4 separate regions of the Homo sapiens genome follow, and regions 1, 2 and 3 are each linked to region 4. The links are contacts of gene promoters, found by promoter capture Hi-C in blood cells and fetal thymus (Javierre and others, 2016). All regions are on one chromosome and are shown on one strand. Each heading gives the region's core, a stretch centred on a gene start or on the middle of the fragment in contact. The rest is flanking DNA. Distances are from core to core; before and after follow the strand shown. Region 1 overlaps FAR2 (fatty acyl-CoA reductase 2). Region 2 overlaps ERGIC2 (ERGIC and golgi 2). Region 3 overlaps ERGIC2 (ERGIC and golgi 2). Region 4 holds the start of FAR2 (fatty acyl-CoA reductase 2).

Region 1 (3,402 bases), core at 626-3,125, 180 kb after region 4:
ATATATACCAAGCCAACCATAAGTTTTCACCAGACTATGTAATACTATTTCCTTTAAATCTCCCTCACAAGAAATGTGAAGTGTTTGTGTTTGATCCATGTTTAAATATTCCTATGTAAATAGTAATCCATATTATCAGTACCTTTGAAATAATGACTCAAATAATCTCTCCTTTGGAGAGGGTCCAACCTATGTCTCCCAAATTGAAGGTCACTCGTCTATGTAGAAGAAACCTCAAGTGGACAAAGTGACTGTCCAGCACTGCAATTCTGGCAATCTATAATCTCTCTTGCCTCTCAGGTATTCAACTTTGACGTGCGCCAGTTGAACTGGTTGGAATACATTGAAAATTATGTTTTGGGAGTTAAAAAATACTTATTGAAAGAGGATATGGCTGGGATCCCAAAAGCAAAGCAACGCTTAAAAAGGTAAGTATAATCAGTCAGTTAATATTTATTGAGCACCTACTGTGCATCGACTTTATACCAGACATAACATTTGTGCAGAGGAGAATGAACATTTCTTGAGCATTTACTACATTACAGGTCCTGCACTCCATACTCTACCCTGTAACACAGTTTCATTTAGACTTCACCACACCTCTATGAGGCAAGTATTACTTTTGTTACCCCATTTTTATGAGGCAGATATCTAGATTTAAACACAGCAAATAACTTGCCCATGGTAATTGCATAGTAAGTCTAAGAGCCAGATTTGAACCCAAATTTGTTTCTTCTACCACACTCTGTCATAATGGGATATAAATACCCAACAGGCAGGAGACCTGATTATGCTATTTAACCTAGAAAAAAGTCACTCCTCAATTTTTTCAACTTTCTTAAATTTCTTTCAGTCGTAATCCCTGAGGGACAAGGAATTCTAGCACTCTGGTATAATCCTGGTAGAAGCAGAGGATCTGTAGTGCAGAGATGATAAGGATAAAAAAGTAGCTTGCAAAACAGGAAGGAGGAACCTTGAATAGCAAGCCAAGAACTTTAGAATTTACCTTCTAATGAACAAGAACCAGTGAAGATTTATGATGTGGTAACATGACCAAAGTATATTTACAAGATTATGCTAGTCATGCTTGTAAATAGTTTCAAGTGGAGAGAGGTATAAGAGAAATTAGGGAAATATGGTAGAAATCTGACTATTCAGCAAGAATGCTGTGGAAATGAAAGACGCAGAAACCAATTGGCCAAGTTATATCAAATACTCTGAGCACTTCATAAATACTTGCCAGTCATATCCAGGAAAACACATATTTATCTTCAGATAATGTGGTTGGGTATCTGGTAGTTTTAACTTTGGTTATGTCTGTCTGTTCCCTAGGCTCCGAAATATTCACTACCTCTTTAATACTGCCCTCTTCCTTATCGCCTGGCGCCTTCTCATTGCAAGATCTCAGATGGCTCGGAATGTCTGGTTCTTCATTGTAAGCTTCTGTTATAAATTCCTCTCCTACTTTAGAGCATCCAGCACGCTCAAAGTTTAAGAGCATTTAGCCATCGCTTTTTATCTGGAACCTCTCAGATACCTCTAAAACAGCAAACTGTGATTCTCAAGATTAGAAAGTAACAAGGAATATGCCCAAACTGTCAAATGTCACCTGTTATGTATTCGTCCCTATTCCTTAACTATGTATTTTTATTTCAGTGAGAGAAGGAAAGTTGTAAACTAGCCCATAGTCACCTATATTTTAGGGAAAAAAATCCAAATTGTTTCCTAACATTCTATTTTATGCCCTTGCGTATTAAACGTGAAAGTACTCCCACTTTTCTATATTTAGTTTTTCTTTTCTCTCTGAGATGATTCATTTAAACTCAGTAAATATGGAAAGATGCATGGCAGAAGCTGAAATGAGCTCAAGCAGTACTAACCTTGGAACCATTCTGGGTACCCAAAAGAAAAATTTAAAATCAAGATGAGTAAAAGGAGAATGGTCTCAATATCCTCAAAAATGCAGTAAGAGAAGTAATTCCCCACTGAAAATGTCTCTCTTTCTTTCTATGTTATACCCTGGAGTCCTGGTTGAGGGGTGGGGGAATCAGAAAAGTAGGTTTACATTTAACATTTTTCTTAACTACATTCACTTCTTAAAAAGGAACAAGAAGTGTAAATAAGTATGTATAGAGTGAGGGATTAAGCATATTTGCATTGGGGACTCGTGTATTATGCTTTTAAGTCAAAATTAATATTCTCAAATTCGAATTTGATAGCTATTATTTCTAAATCTTTTTAATCCTCAATTTTCCTGGTAACCTTCTTTCAAGAGTCTCCTTCTTCTAAAAGTTGCCAAACCCTTTATATTTAAGCTTTTTCCACTCAGGACTCAATTAGAGTGGTCAACAGGGAGAGGGATGGTCCCATTTGATCTTTGCCACTGAGCAAAACAAAACTTCAAATGAACTTTTAAACTGTAGCTTTAGTCTTCTGGTATAAAGTGGGGAAGATTACACTTATGTGATCACCAAAGGATTTACTAGTATCTTGGTCATTCCAATTGCACAATGTTAACTGTACAACACACAGCAGAAAAGTGAATAGACTTCACTAAGGGATTCTAAGTTTAGAAAATAGGTTTTGTTTTCTTAAAAAATTTTGTGTATAATACAAACTAATGAAAACTATACATATTCTCCAATTCCTATAGTAATAATAATGTAACTGTTACACCAACTTTCCTCATATTTGAGAGATGAGTACATGTTGGATTGCAGCATTTCTTCATGTTAAAAACATGGAATATTATTCAAATATAGTACTTGGGGCCTAAACAACTAAAATTAGTCACCGCATAACTAGTTGAAAATGGCATAGGCATAAAATGTTAATAAAGAATGGCAGTTATATTTATGCTCACTTCCTGGAGTAATTGGGTAATATTCAGAAAGGCACATCGTGGTAGTTTAAGTGTACAAGGCCTTAGGGCAGTATCTAGCCCAGTATTATTCCAGATTCTCCTGAGCTCTATATAAAGGGCATTTTGGAGGAACTCTTCTGGGCAATATCTTTCCCAATCTCATCTAAATTCTGGGAAATATTTTCCATAGCAGACAACCCAGCTCTGAAACTAAGCACCTGGTGATCTTTAGTTTGAGATGTCTATATGGTACTTTTGAGTTATATCAATTAAGATACAAGCTATAGACATGATAAAAATATGAAATCAAGATATAGCTCAGTGGGATTGGATTAAGACATAATAATAGTTCTAAGAATTCACTTTTGATTGTATGTTTTACCAATTCAATAATTCCACTAATCAAGTATTCACATTTTGACTTTTGATTAAATAAAAATTTGAATTAAAATTATTCCCCTCTTCTAGTGTTGTCTTTAACCGTTGACTACCGCAGCACTTCTCCCTCCTTTACACCCCCTGCACCCCACCCCCCAAGC
Region 2 (3,441 bases), core at 488-2,987, 220 kb after region 4:
AAACATTAGTACCTACCAATTAATTAGCAAAACATGAGAAATATAAATCAACTGACCTATTAAAAACTTGGATTTCAAGCAGAATAAATTATGTCGATTAGAACTTGAATTGCATTTCTCATGGCCAAAACAAAGGCTCTTTAAATTACAAGTTCTATTTTGCCCTTATTCCAAAAGCCTTTCTGACTTCACAGGTTTTTGAACACAGTATCCTTTAATAATGGCAACTCTATAATCAATAACTCTAAGCAACTCAGAAAAAGTCTTAACCTCTTAATCTCTATTTACATAAACTTTTGATAGAATGTTCTTTTAAGAATGTAAAACTCTCAAAATCAAGAATTAGGAATTGTCTTTCTTCTCTGTTTATCAAACACCATATATTAAGCATGATGCTAGATGTTCTACAAATATTATCTCCTTTATTCTATATCATGGAGCTATAAATGGATGGCTTCACAGATTTTCAAGTAAACCACTGGTGTTCACGGTAGTGTAAATACCTGGCTTAAGATCACATCACCATTAAAGTGGCATACTGGAAACTAGGTCTATGTAACTCAGGATAAATGCAACCAAACTACCAAAAGTAAATCACCTGATGCTTAAAATTTTTCATGGCCTTTCATTTTCAAATGATTAGATCAAAGCAATTTTCGAATACCAGAATGAAGCATTGCGAATAATAGACTGGCTATGATCAAATTCAGTCCTGTGCTTTCTATGATAACTTTTTTCTGTGTAATAATTTTCATCTGATTTAAAATAGGAATTACAGATTTTTAGACCTTCATGAAGTCTTAAAGTCATCTAGAGTTCAAACTGTGTTCCAAATAACCCAGGAGTTTAGGCTCAGGAGATAGGAACCAGGAGTAGGCCAAGTAGACAAACTTCTGCATATCCTCACCATGCTTATGTGGCGAACTATGTAATACATAAGACTTCATTTGGAAAAAAATGAAGTATTGCATTGGTGCTGAAAACAACAACAAATTCTTTGAAAACCAATACTATCCTGAATAGTACATTAGAGATGAAGAAACTGAAGTCCAAAAGAAGTCAGTGGTGTGACCTGCCCAAGGTTACACAGCAATTTACAAATGTTGACTAATTTAATTCTCATAAACCTCTTGAGGAAGATACTATAATTGCTGTCTGTACTTTACAAAAAAGGAAACTGAAGCATATACAGGTGCAGATTTAGTAAATTCCCTAAAATTATGTAAATGGCAAACCTGGATTGTAATTGAAAACTAAATGTGTCTTCCTATTTGGTGCAATCTTAATATTATAAACCTATTATCTTCATTCCATTGAAGAAATCCAAATAATACAAACGAATAGATGTAAAGTGTATAATTAAGGTACTATATTTTCAAAAGTTTAAAAGTAATCTTATTTACATAAAGATTTAGCTTAGGTATAATTTATAGACATCAAGTCATAAGGGTATACAATGTATCCTTAGACAACTTATTTTCCAGCTCACACAGATCAGTGAGGTATTTCAACCAGTTTCAAATATTAAACAATTTCCACAATATACATATCTAAGGAAAAATATTCCCCTAACTTTTTGAAACAAAGCATGCTAAATCAAAGAACCTCAGTTTTAGAATTCAACCACTATTTAAATGATTCTAAAAGGTTTCACTTAATGCATGCAATTAATGAGAATTTTTCAGGACTATTTCTTCAGAACTAAAACAAACCAAATCTAGAAGGTTAGACTTTTTCTTTTTTAAAAGGTATGCTCTTTTTAAAACAATTTGAATCTAAAGGTATTCCAAGAAGAAAAAAAATGATTACCTAGAAAAATCCTTGTCTACTTCGTATTCATACTTCATCCATGTATCTTGATATACTGAGAATTCCATTATGGTTAATAAAGCCATAGTTGTAAATGCTATTAGAGAAACTGGGAAATCCAACAACAAAAGAAAAACAGAATTAAAACAATAAAAAAAGCAAAGAATAGGAAACTAATTTAAGTGAGATTAAATTTTCAAAAGAAAAAGCCTAATAATGTAACTTCCATTTGAATGCATACTATAGAAGGTTTTTATTCAAAATGTTTATTATGCATTTTTTCTAATACAGCTCAAAAGTTAAGGTTTAATATATACAAATATGAACATAAACACTTGCATTACTAAGAAAGCATTTTATTTCTCCAATTTTAAGGGCATCTCTCACTAAGTAGAGTTGACAAAATTTGTATTTCTTATATAAAACAGTGTCACAGATAGGATAAATGATGAAAGTAAGCATGCCTTATAGCACAAATTTGAAAACAGTTGCTTCATTATTAAAAATGCATCCATGTCTATAAATATAATTTGTATATAAATGTATATAAATTGGGCTATAAGCCCAATTTAAAACAAACAAAAAGGTAGCCTAATTTCTTAGATCCTGAGAAACCACAATAATCTGTGTGCCAGAAACTCAAATAACATCTCTAAATAGCTAACAAAACTCTCCTCTACTTGGCAATCTCCTAAATATATCACCTCATTCACAGAACTGAGTAAAAGATCTGACAAAAAGAAAATCTATTATATACTAAAGCAAAATACTTAAAATAGATTTTGCAAGAACTTGCACTATTTTCATTAACAAAACTTAATCACAAGTGGATCAGAAATAGTAAGCAACTTATTACCCATTTTACCAAATAAAATGTCAACCTTAAGTGAAATACATTATTTTACTACCTTTTCATAGGGAAAGAAATTATACTGAATATTGTTATAGTCACACATTTTTCTTATATATTTCATTATTTATTTTACTTAACTGATACTTTTATCTGTACCAGGCACTGGGTCTAAGCATTTTATGAAAATATTAATAGTATAGTAACCCCTAGGAGGTAAATACTAGTATGATCCCTATTTCATGGAAGAAACTAAGACAGATAGATTTGAATAACTTCCTCAAGGTCACATATTTAGGAAAGGGCAGCAAAGCAGAAACATTGGTTTAATGTATTAATGTTTTAATAAACACTGCCAAAGGCACAGATGGCACTGTGTTGGAGGCTATAGAGAATATTAATAAGAATTACAGCCAACAGAGTGGCATGAAGACAGACAAGTTACGAAGTTACGGCAGAATTCATTGATAAATTCTTCCTCATGGCTACATTTCTATATGTTGTTGACTGGATCACGCAGAAGTTGTACTTACTACAGAACTTTTAATGTTAACTGATACTCACCTGTACCTCCACTGGCTGAAGTCTCTACATAGCTCTCAGGAACCTTCGGAAAGGCATCCAACTCTTTTACCAAACTTAAAGTTTTTTTCCGATTCAGTCGCCTCATCTTCAGGAAAACCTTCCTCTTCCTTCATATAGTCATGCTAAGGAATAAATAAATTAATGAATAAATGAATCCTTTAAAGAGATAAAAAGGTTTCTTTAAATTTAGGATAACT
Region 3 (2,996 bases), core at 333-2,832, 200 kb after region 4:
GGTCTCTGCCATAATTACTCAACTGTGGTACTGTAATACAAAAGCAGCCATATATAAACAAATGAGCATGGCTATATGCCAATAAAACTTTATTTTTGGACACGAATTTAAATTTCATATATTTCTCATGTATTATATTACTCCCCTTCTGATTTATTTTCAAATATTTAAAAATGTAAAAACCATGTCTGGGCAAGGTGGCTCACACCTGTAATCCTAGCACTTTGGGAGGCCAAGGTGAGTGGATCACCTGAGGTCAGGAGTTCGAGACCAGCCTGGCCAACATGGTGAAACCCTGTCTCTACTAAAAATACAAAAATTAGCCGGGCGTGGTGGTGGGCTACCTGTAATCCCAGCTACTCAGGAGGCTGAGGCAGGAGAATCACTTGAACCTGGGAGGCAGAGATTGCAGTGAGCCCAGATCACGTCACTGTACTCCAGCATGAGCAACAGAGCGAGACTCTGTCTCAAAAAAATAAACAAACAAATAAATAAACAAAATTTAAAAGCCCTTCTTAGCTCATGAACCATACAAAAACAGGTAGTAGGCTGGATTTGGTATATAAACTGTAGTTTGCCTACCACTGCAGTAAACCTTTGTTCTGTTATACACTGTTATCTTTCAAATTTAACCTGTTCTTTTAGCACCTTTACACTTCTACAAATAAGTACTATCCTTCCCTGTTCCTGGTTAAAAAAAATTAAAAAATCACCTTGAAGATCTCCTTTATCACAATCCTGCTTTACCCAGTTACTAATTCTAGCAATTAACTAAAAAACTGAAAATAGAAACTCTCCATAAAGGAGCCTTCTTTCTTTATAACCAATTAACTGTCTGTTACCATTGTCAAGTTTCAGAATATGCCCTAGTAGGTCTAAACATTGTTTAATTTGTTCTATGTGTTACCTAGCAAAACACCAGGCACTTTAAAAAAGGCAATACAATGATTAGGGAAATGTATTAACTGACATTCAACATAAAGTATACTAAAACCTTGCTCAATAAAGCATTTCCTGATGCACTGGAATGATTGGTAGTTTGGTCTCGTAAATTCTTCTGTGTTCACAGTCAAGTGTATTACCTCAAGCTTACTACTAAAAAGAAAGTCTACTGTCATAAATTATTACTAGCTCCAATCATATTGTCAGTCTAACAGTGTTCCTACTATTATTTTCAAACAAACAACAAAGTTTTTCTGAATAACCAAATTACAATACTACACGTTGAATATCCCTTATCCAAAATGCTTGGGATCAGAAGTTTCAAATTTTAGATTTTAGAATATGTACATTTTATTTGCCAGGGAGGCCTCCCTAACCTGAAATCTGAAACACTCTTAAGCATTTCCTTTGAGCATCGTGTTGACAATGCTCAAATTTGGAGTATTTTGAATGCTCCAAATTTGGAGCATTTTGAATTTCAGATTTTCAGATAAGGGATGCTCAACCTATACATTTTACTTCAATGATCTCTCTCACCACCCAGGATTTTACTCTGAGAGGAACAGAGAGCTGTTTTAAATAATATTTCCTTCTTTTTTTTTTTGTTAACAGGTGTATTCATTTTATGAAGTAACAGCATAAGTGAGCATCTTCTTCAAAAAATTAAATTTAAAAATCAAATTAAATCACCCTAGTACAGATGACTGTAGTTATCTGACACTTGTTAAAACTCTGCATAGGGAGGATGGATATTCAGAATTTACCTGTTTCTTTTCTGGGATATTTTCTACCCTATCAGACAAGAATCTAGCCTGAATGACTTTCAGTGGAGGAAAAGTTGTTCTGAAAATTGGTGGGGGGTGAAGAGAGGCATTTTGAGTTGTCAGAATTATTGGGAAGGGGTTGCTATTGGGATTTACTGGACAACAGCCACAGAAACAAGGCATCCTGCAATGAAATTGACAGTCTCACACAAAAAAGAATCATTCCAGGATTTGCCTGACTTTCAAATGTTCTAAGAGATACTCATGTACATGAAAAGCCTATTATAATAATCTGAGTCTAGAACTGAACCCCATTTAGCTATATAAAGTTGTAGTTTTAATATACACTAAATTTCCCAGAAAACTAAGGGAAGCTTATATTCTGTTTTGTTTAATATTACAAAGAGGTATTCCTATTTCTGAATATCATCTCATCAACGGAAATGTCACTCATGATATCTGAGTAGCCAATACATCTGTTTCAGTCTGCATTTGTAGCAATTATACACTTAAAAATTCTACATATAAGTGGCAAGCATCTGCCTACTTCATTATGTCTTCTAGTGTATTCACGCTCAAGCATATTGAAATACATATTGTGTTACAAATTATGTTCCTTTTATTACTCTTTTAAATTACAGTTGAGACTGACATTGTGTCTGAGAGGTAATATGAGACCTTCAAAAAGATCAATATTGAACTTGACAAATGTAACACTAAAAATTAGGAGTGGGTTTACAGGATATCCCTGAGATGACAAGATATGAACCAAATGCTTTTCTATTTGGCCTCTCTGATAGTGTGAGTTACCACCTGGGAAGGAAAGTGAAATTGTGAAAAGACCAAAAACAAATTTTAAAAAGGGACATAATATAGAGTCTGATTATAATATTTGTCAAAATTTCCCTCTTTGAGTTGGTTGTGGACTAGAATATTGTTTGTATCCAAAGGTGCAATAAAATCTGCTAAATTTCTTTAAGCTAAGATTTCAAGACATTCCAAGGTTCCCAGCAACAGGTTGGGTTGGAGATGGGTAATGGTAACAAAACAACAAAACATAAATTTCAAGAGATAATGAGGAAAAAAACAAATGTTTGATCTGAGTATTGTAAATACTGAAATACTTTTTCATAGAAATCTAATGTTATCTCTATATGTATTTTATAAACTTCCAGCCATGCTCTTTCCTGCTGTATGCCCTTCCCTCCTTTATATATTAAATTCCTCCTCTTCTCCTAGTGTTCAAAGGTCTTCCTCAATAAAGTCTCCACTGACTTGCAGCGTACATTT
Region 4 (3,304 bases), core at 530-3,029:
TAATGTTGTATTTTATCTATGAACATCCCACTGAAAGTATGCTTTTAATTTCCTACTTTATAAACAACTCGGTAATAAATATGCAACTATGTACATGCGGCATTTCTCTTTTATGGATTATCTCCTTTGAATACATTGTAAGACATGGGAATCTAGGTCCAGAACAAGAAAAAATTTCGTTACTGAACACCTTGGGAATGTGTTGCTAAATTGCTTTCCAACAAAAGCGTGATTACAATTTACCTTCCATCTGCTATCTGTTAAGTGATTTCTATACGTTTTCACCAGCATTTGACATTATCATTTGAAGTGCTGTCACACACATTTTGAAGATACATTCAAATTTATTCTTGAGGAGGGGAGGGGTAACGAAAAATACTATAAATTTGGTTGTAACTTTTTTTCTGTCTCTTGCATTCAGGCGGTCACCAGAGGAAATTAGTCAGTGCCTTTAGGCTACACTTAGCTTAACACATTTCATTAAAGAGCCCAGTAGTAGAGAATTCAAGATGGGTGTTATTATTTTAATTTCATGAAATCACTCCTTAATTCTAACTTTCAAAAGTCAAATTTTATTTCTTTAATTGCATGTGGATTGTTATAATGAGGAGAATCAGAACAGCTTATAGGACAATATTTCTTTTCTATTTTTCTTAACACACCATATTTATTTGGAAATTTACCTCCTACATTGTCCAGGGAATTAGGATGGGCGTTGGCCGTTTTTCAGCACTTCCTGGTTGAGGCCAAGGGCTCCACTCACGTGCCTGTCCATCCCTCTACAAGGCTTCCCTGGCAGCTTGTTTTTCCGTTTAAAATTTAACAATGACCAAATCCCAAAAAAGCTACCAGGCTAAGAAATGAAACATCTTTTTTTCTTTTAAGTCCGGAGAAGTGCTGCTGAGCACAGCTGGCTCACTGCTGTTTCTGCGGCCCCCATCTCTGATCCTTTCTAGTCTCCTACCCACCCCCACCCCACCATAGGCAGGCAGAGCCGGATTTCTGCCCTTCAAACCCCGAGTGTGAGGAAGCCTCACCTGAAGTCCTCGCATCACCCTCCACCCTCACGCCCTTGGGTTTTAAAAAGCCACTGCGTTCGTGGGTCACTGCAGGGCGCCTCCGCAATGTCTTTAGCAGATACAAGAGCATCCCTCCCACGGGATGTGCAGTGTAGTCAAGCTGAGTAAACTGGGATTTTTGGCTGCCTTTTCTGCTAGGGTGGGTGGGGAAAGGTATGTCCCCCAAGCGTTCAGTTCAGACTAGAACCTTTGAATCTCTCTCCTGTCTCGGTCTCTCCCTCCACCCCCCTACCCCGCCACCTTTCACGGTGTGGGAGTTCTCCTTTCCCACACCAGAGAGGGGCGCCTTTCTAGCTTCCTTGTCCCCTCGCCCACTGATTAAAAAATGGAGAAAAAAACCAACCCCAAAACCCAAAACAAAACAAAACAAAAGCCCCAAACAAACAAACAAACCAAACCCACCGAAACCAAAACCAACTCCCCTCCCCCAAACCACACAAATGCGGGAGTCATAGCCAGTGGATCCGCTGGTGCTGAACGAATGGAAGCGCGGGGCGGGCCTGCGCGCGCGGCCGCCCTGCCCACGATGCTGTCGCCCCCGCGACCTGTAGGGCCTTCGCTGGCCCCTCACCCTCCTCCCGCCCCGGGCTGAGGCTGCCGCCGGTTTCGCGCCCAGTGCCGAGGCAGCGGCGGAGCCGGGGAAGGTCGGAGGGAGGGTGGTTTCCTCCCGCCCCACACCCAGTCTCCGAGCCGGATATATAGAGTGTCACGTTTGGGAGCCGAAAGACTGGAGCCGTTTCCTTGTGGCTGGAGCGCTTCCCGTAGCCTCGGGGAAGGAGCAGGATTTAGAGGACCACTAGTTGGACCCCATCCTCGTGCTGGAGGAACAGGTATTCCAGGGTCCCCAGCCCTGGCGCTCGCAGAGCCCACGCGCTCCAAAAGCAGAGACCGGACTGGGGGTGGCCCAGGAGGGAGGGCTCGGCTGGGTTCGCAGGGCGGGGCGGTTCCCGGCGGGACCTCGAGGAGGGTGGGTGTGAGGCCGGGTGGGAGGAGAGAAGCATTTGCGGAGGCTCTGCCCCCTGAAGCTGCCCCCGGCTGCACCCCAATCGTCACCGGCCGTTTACGCGCGGTTGGCGTCGGCGGAGCCCGCCAAGGTGGGGCGCGCGGGGGTTGCAAAGGGCAGAAAGCCGGGAAGGACCCAGCAAGGTTAATGTGGGGGGCCGCGCCTTGGGGACTGGGGACCCGGGAAGAGAGGCGCGGGGCCGAGTCCCACCCAGGCCTCCTGGGCCCTTGGGGCTATTCCTGGAGAGAGCGCGAAAATGCCGGGGCCACGTGTGAAACGGCAGCGGTCCTAGGTCCCCTCCCGGTGCCTGGGACCGCCAGGGCGCCCAGTCCTGGTCCCCGGAGCAGGTCCTCGCCAGCCCCCAGCCCCACCCCAGGCTGCGCACGTCCCTACCCTCCCACCTGGGCCTCGCCGGGGTCGTGGCTGACGCGCGCTGGGGCGACTGGTGAGGCCAGGGCGGGCTTTGCCCCTGTAGGAAGTTTTAGACATCTTCCTGCGGCCTGGGCATCCTGGGGGTGTGCAGGGGAGCAGGTGCCAGCAGACTCCCAACTGGAGTAGATGGCTTGCAGGAAGGCTGCTCAACACTCCTAGCAAGTAGAATTACCCGCGGGGCAGTCTCAGTCTATTAAAACAATTCATGCCCAATCGTATCCTACAAACCAGAGGAAGGCGTCTCACCTGCCAGCGGTGGCACCATTTCTTCCACGGTTGAGTTATGTGGTGTGAGCAACCAAGGTTATCGCTGGATCTGCAAGAGTTTGGCCACTCGTTGAATCACGTAAAGTGCCCCCATTATGTGATGAGCAAGGACAGAGTAGGGTCAGAAAAGTGACCAGGGAATTCAGGTAGATCGTGCTTTTCTGTTTGCTAGGTTGAGAGAAATTTGACACTGGGCAAATGGAAATTTGAGAATTACCCCGTGGTTTCAATTACCCATCTCTGTATATTCCCATTTATAAGAGCTGGAGATTTGACTGACAGGTGTAGTTAGTCCAAAATTTAGAAAGGGGGGCAAGGGACTAAATAAAAACTTAAGGCAGCCACCTAAACTGCAAGAGCAGGCATTTCCGCAGAAGGGATATTTGTGTGTGAGACTTCTAGGAGATGGGCATGAGGTTTTTACCAGGCCGACGCGTGTGTCAATATTTCATCGGTAGTATTTCTCAGGATCCACGTCTTTACAGTACTCTTTTCCTAATTCTGAGGGCTGCTTCTGCCCCTG

What was found. Contacts are between HindIII fragments. The CHiCAGO score rates a contact against its expected background, and 5 or more counts as called.
Region 1: a fragment that was not itself captured here is called in contact with the fragment with the promoter of FAR2 in region 4 in 3 of 17 cell types (neutrophils, M2 macrophages and monocytes); the score reaches 6.4 in neutrophils.
Region 2: a fragment that was not itself captured here is called in contact with the fragment with the promoter of FAR2 in region 4 in 1 of 17 cell types (neutrophils); the score reaches 10.3 in neutrophils.
Region 3: a contact is called between a fragment that was not itself captured here and the fragment with the promoter of FAR2 in region 4, in 1 of 17 cell types (monocytes). The highest score is 5.3, in monocytes.

What each region holds. Positions count from the first base shown.
Region 1 is chr12:29,332,300-29,335,701 of GRCh38, forward strand. It overlaps FAR2 (fatty acyl-CoA reductase 2), which reads left to right. Exons shown (of 12, transcript NM_001271783.2): 11 at 301-428; 12 at 1,333-3,317. The coding sequence ends at 1,495. Among named protein-coding and RNA genes, the nearest start is that of FAR2-AS1, 16 kb to the left of the region's middle. The HindIII fragment of the contact is 875 bases long and covers 1,439-2,313 here.
Region 2 is chr12:29,368,305-29,371,745 of GRCh38, forward strand. It overlaps ERGIC2 (ERGIC and golgi 2), which reads right to left. Exons shown (of 14, transcript NM_016570.3): 2 at 3,224-3,366; 3 at 1,810-1,918. The coding sequence starts at 3,329. Among named protein-coding and RNA genes, the nearest start is that of ERGIC2, 11 kb to the right of the region's middle. The HindIII fragment of the contact is 7,633 bases long and covers 1-3,441 here.
Region 3 is chr12:29,352,195-29,355,190 of GRCh38, forward strand. The region is part of intron 8 of ERGIC2 (ERGIC and golgi 2); the gene reads right to left. Among named protein-coding and RNA genes, the nearest start is that of ERGIC2, 27 kb to the right of the region's middle. The HindIII fragment of the contact is 992 bases long and covers 1,087-2,078 here.
Region 4 is chr12:29,147,499-29,150,802 of GRCh38, forward strand. It overlaps FAR2 (fatty acyl-CoA reductase 2), which reads left to right and starts at 1,780. Exons shown (of 12, transcript NM_001271783.2): 1 at 1,780-1,909. RefSeq lists silencers at 1,628-1,687, 1,998-2,147. The HindIII fragment of the contact is 9,301 bases long and covers 1-3,304 here.